Regions from separate parts of the Homo sapiens genome. Here region 2 is linked to region 1. The links are contacts of gene promoters, found by promoter capture Hi-C in human tissues and cell types (Jung and others, 2019). All regions are on one chromosome and are shown on one strand. Each heading gives the region's core, a stretch centred on a gene start or on the middle of the fragment in contact. The rest is flanking DNA. Distances are from core to core; before and after follow the strand shown. Region 1 holds the start of FAM90A1 (family with sequence similarity 90 member A1). Region 2 has its middle 10 kb from the start of FOXJ2.

Region 1 (2,591 bases), core at 54-2,553:
GGGAAGGCAGAGGTTGCAGTGAGCCAAGATCGCGCCATTGCACTCCAGCCTGGGCTACAAGAGCGAAACTCCGTCTCAAAATAATAATAATAATAATAATAATAATAATAATAATAATAATAACAAGAGCGAAACTCCGTCTCAAAATAATAATAATAATAATAATAATAATAATAAACCACATCACACCCACCACAAACCAGCTGTCAGTGTGAAAATAAAGCCAAATAGCTTAACATTTCTAAAGACTAGCTGGGGCTAGGCATGATGGGTCAGGCCTGGAATCTCAGCACTTAGGGAGGCCAAGGCGAGAGGATCACTTGAGGTCAGGAGTTCAAGACCAGCCTGGCCAACATGGTGAAACCCTGTCTCTGCTAAAAATACAAAAATAAGCCAGGTGTTGTGGCGGGCTCCTGTAATCCTGTAATCTACTTGGGAGGCTGAGGTGGGTGAATCGCTTGAACCCAGGAGGCGGAGGTTGCATGAACTGAGATCGTGCACTCCAGCCTAGGCAACGGAGCAAGACTGTCTAAAACAAAGACTAGCTGGAGAATCCTGCCAGGAAAAGGCCCTCAGACTCCAACTGCTCTGCTCACTCGAAGCTGGAAGATGCGGCTCTAGAGACGCATCAGGACCAAGCCACGACTCCCCACTTGGAGAAATCAACGCGGAAAGAGACGGAGGCAAAGGAGAACCATCGCACTGGGAGAGGCGACGCTGTTTGACACATCGTCCCTGTACCTCCCAAAGCCACTGCCCTCCCACACCTGGGCAACAGTGGCCCCAACCCCAGGCCCAGCCCTCCTGCAGGAAGGAAGAGGACTGAATGGAGGGCGTGGCAGACTGAAAGGACGTGGCCTCCTCAAACCCCTTGGTAAAGGGCCTCTGGGGCCACCTGGCAGGGAGGGGCTGGCACACCAGGAAGTAGCCTCCTCCCGGGAGTTCAGCTAGAGCCCAGGTCCTGTCCCCAAGTGGCCTCCAGAGCCACCTTTTCTGAAAAAAGTACATCCTGCCCACCCCTGTTCCCCCTGCTTAAGGCCCCGCGTCCTCCCTGAGCCTCCTGCTGGCCTCTCACCTAGAAGCGGGGGTAGTCCTCGGCCCTCCAGCCAGGGGGTGCAGACCTGGATGTGCTGGAAATGCTTCTGGTGGATGAGGCGGCTGTAATACTCCCTCAGAGGCCCTTTGCCTTCACAGAGAAAAGCAGACACTGCCATGGACCCGTCTCTCTCCGTGCCACGTGGCCCCAGGCCCAAGACACTCCCCCTAGGAGGGATCCTTTTCCCAGAAGCTCCACCCCTCGGCAGCTCCAGTCAGGCCCCATCCGGGCCCTTCCAGAAGCAACCCAGGAGCCCCGAGACCTGCAGGGATGTGTGCACCCTGACCCCTGACGCATAGCCCTGCACCTGCAGCCAGCTGGCCTCGGGCTTGAAAACATGGCGGGGTAAGCACTGGCCTGGCACCCGACCGCCCACTGGGTGGACCCAGCCTTCTGTCTGTGTTGTGCGCAGGGGACACGAGGACTCCCGCTGCCCTGACACAGCCCCCAGATCACATGGCGCAGGTTCCAAGCCGCCCCTGCCCTGCCACAGCCCCCAGAGCACACGGCGCAGGTTCCAAACCACTCCTGGGAGCCTAGAGGCCAAAGGAGGGAGGAGAGCAGGACCAGCAGCTGGCCCAGACCCCGCCTCTTCCCACACCGCTTCTGCTTTTCCCCCTCCTCACTGAGTCATCTTGAAAGGGCTCAGCAGCAGTAACTGAGGGACAGGGGCTCTTCCGTTTGAAAAATTAAAAGAGGCTTGGTTAAGGCAACAATGACATGACCGGGCACAATGGCTCATATCAATAATTCCAGCATATTGGGAGGCCAAGGCAGGTGGATCACCTGAGGTCAGGAGTTCAAGACCAGCCTGGCCAACATGGTGAAACCCTGTTTCTACTAAAAATACCAAAATAAGCTGGGTGTAGTGGGCACCTGTAGTCCCAGCTACTCGGGAGGCTGAGGCATGAGAATTGCTTGACTGTGAGACGCGGAGGTTGCAGTGAGCTGAGATCACACCACTGCACCCCAGCCTGGGCGACAGAGACTGTGTCTCAAAAAAAAAAAAAAAAAAAAAAAAAGACATCAATGAAGAAACAAGAAAAAAAAAAAGATGCTTGGAAACTACTGAAAAATTAGAAAGCTTGGTATGTACAGATTCACATCTGGGCTCCCTGCCCTGCTGTGAAACCCTCTGAGCTTCAGTTTCCCACATGTAAAGCAGTATAAGACCCTATGGCAGAGAGCTGCAGTGGGGATTAAGGAGACAAGATCGTGGGAAGCACAAGGTAAAGGCGGCGTGCCCCTCCCTGGACTCCAATGCCTGGAGTCTCAAGACCAGCTGAAAAGGGAGCCAGGCACTGAAGGACAAAGCGGTGTTGACTTTCTTCATCTGTGTTTCCCAGTGCGCTCCAATTCACGGTGGTTTCCAAGCGCATTCTGGAGGAGAAAACACATGAGTGTGTGGTCAGGGTTCTCTGCTGACAGACCTACCGTGGGGAAGAAAGAGAAGCTCTGAAGATGGATCATGGCCGTGACTGCATGTCAAGGAGAA
Region 2 (2,591 bases), core at 53-2,552, 210 kb after region 1:
CTGGGTTGCATTGCCTTTGGCATTTATGGAAAGAAGAAAAAGAAGAAAAGGGCAGTGGGCTACTGCTCAATCAGGTATTAGATCTGTCAGGGCTGGCTGCAGTAACTAGAAACCACTTAAGTAGGAAAGGCTTTAATACTGGGGCTTAATGTGCTTACAAAATCGTTGGAAGTACTGGAGAAAGGGGGTTTCTGCTGTATATCAGAAATGGCTCCAAGAATGAGGCTGCTAAATTCACCCACCAGGAAAGCTTTAGAAAGATGAGAAATCAAGACTGTATTGCTGCAGCTGTTGAGTTCAGGAACACATGCCCCTGTACTGACATGAGTATGGAAAGAAAAAAAATTAAAAATAAAGAAAAAAAGGAGAACTTACTGCCCTAGTTGTGATCAAGGAATTGGGCAGCTACTGTTGCTAACACAGCCTCAGCACCTTTCAACAGCCATGAAACGCCGGGCACAGTGGCTCACACCTGTAATCCCAGCACTTTGGGAGGCCGAGGCAGGTGGATCACCTGAGGTCAGGAGTTCGAGACCAGCCTGGCCAACATGGTAAAACCCCATCTCCACTAAAAATACAAAAATTAGCCGGGTGTGGTGGCGGGCACCTGTAATCCCAGCTACTTGGGAGGCTGAGGCAGGAGAATCGCTTGAACCTGGGAGGCAGAGGTTACAGTGAGCTGAGATCGTGTCACTGCACTCCACACTCCAGCCTGGGTGACAAAGCGAGACTCCTTCTCAAAAACAAAAACAAACAAAAAAAAACAGCCGTGGAACTAGTGAATAGACATTGGAACACTGCTGCAGAAAAACCCAGCATTCCCATGACTCTGCTGACCAGCAGCAACAGCCAAAGCGGCCAGCAGCTGACCCCAGCCTGGCTTCCACTTTTCAAGTTTCTTATGTGTGCAAATTATTGATAGATCCACAATTTACAACTAGAATCCTAGTTGCGAAAAAATCTGGAAAGTATAGTTTTTGGTTTTCCAGTCTCTGCAGAGGAAGGTATATAAAGGAAATAGAACATGGGTCACCTATATCCACTACAAGAATATATGGATCTACATTTAAAAGATTTCCCTCCAGGGCGTGGTGGCTCATGTCTGTAGTCCTAGCTACTCAGAAGACTGAAGTGGGAGGATTGCTTGAGCCTGGGAGGTCGAGGCTGCAGTGGAGCTGTGTATGTTCCACTGCACTCCACCCTGGGTGACAAAGTGGACCCTATGTCAATAAATAAATAAGCCGGGCCAGGTGGCTTACAGTGGTGTGGTCCCAGCTACACAGGAGGCTGAGGTGGAAGGATCACTACTGCACTCCAGCCTGGGCAACAGAGCAAGGCCTTGGCTCAAAAAAAAAGAAAAAAAGAAAAAAAAACCCCACAGATTTTCTTAGTAACAAATAAAATGTAGAATGAAACAAAAGGATGTTGAACCAGAAGCAGCATAAGAATGAAGCAAAAGTCTGTTCTAAACTTTTTCATTTTATAAACCAGTGGGGAAATATGAGAGAGCACAGAACTTTTTATATTTTCAGGTAAAGACATTAATTACCAACTAAAGTCTACTATGCCCATCATTTTATAAAAGAATCAACATTTTAATATTAATTAAAACCTTCCACCAGAAAGACAGGAAGGTTATAGTCTCAGGGCTGGGTGCAGTGGCTCATGCCCATAATCCCAGCACTTTGGGAGGGTGAGGATTGCTTGAGCTCAGCAATTCGAGACCAGCCTACGAAACATGGCGAGACTTGTCTTTACAAAAAAATACAATTTAACAAAAAAATTAGCTAGGTGTGGTGGTGATGCCTGTCGTTCCGGCTACTTGGCCAACTTGGGTAGGAGGATCGCTTCAGCCCAGAAGTTCACACCACTGCACTCCAGCCTGGGCGACAGAGCAATACTGCCCCCCCAAAAAATTTAAAATTAAAAAAGGAAAGTTTCAGTCTCAGAATTTAATAACTAAATACATTTAACATCAAGAAAAGTACTACTTTGTCCTGTCCTTTCTGAGTGAACACTTTGGCCAGTATGACAGGGCTCTGAAGCCACTGAGGTAATGTGAGATCTCTGCCATAGTAAGGAGAAAGCTTAGCTTCTTGTCCAGCCTGCTTCGGACTTACTGAACAATTCTGAACAAGTCACTTGACCACTGGGCCTTCATTTATAACTAATTAAAATTAGTACTACAAGTAAATATTAATATTTAAGAGGGAAGGGGCCAGGCGCAGTGGCTCATGCCTGTAATCCCAGCACTTTGGGAGGCCAAGGTGGGTGGATCACCTGAGGTCAGGAGTTCAAGTCCAGCCTGATCAAGATGGTGAAACCTCGTCTTTACCAAAAATACAAAAATAAACCGGGCGTGATGGCAGTGCCTGTAATCCCAGCTACTCGTGAGGCTGAGGCTGGAGAATCGCTTGAACCCGGGAGGTGGAGATTGCAGTGAGCCGAGACCACGCCATTGTACTCCAGCCTGGGTGACAGAGCGAGACTCCTTCCCAAACAAACAAACAAACAAACAAAGAAATTATGGGCCAGGCACGGTGGTTTACACCTGTAATCCCAGCACTTTGGGAGGCTGAAGCGGACGGATC

What was found. Contacts are between HindIII fragments. The study calls those that stand out against the background at their distance.
Region 2: a contact is called between a fragment that was not itself captured here and the fragment with the promoter of FAM90A1 in region 1, in 1 of the 25 tissues and cell types used here (spleen).

What each region holds. Positions count from the first base shown.
Region 1 is chr12:8,226,330-8,228,920 of GRCh38, reverse strand. FAM90A1 (family with sequence similarity 90 member A1) reads left to right here and starts at 1,303. Exons shown (of 7, transcript NM_018088.3): 1 at 1,303-1,441; 2 at 2,443-2,591. It also overlaps the pseudogene ALG1L10P. RefSeq lists an enhancer at 1,692-1,741. The HindIII fragment of the contact is 5,625 bases long and covers 1-2,475 here.
Region 2 is chr12:8,021,268-8,023,858 of GRCh38, reverse strand. No RefSeq gene overlaps it. Among named protein-coding and RNA genes, the nearest start is that of FOXJ2, 10 kb to the left of the region's middle. The HindIII fragment of the contact is 5,712 bases long and covers 1-2,591 here.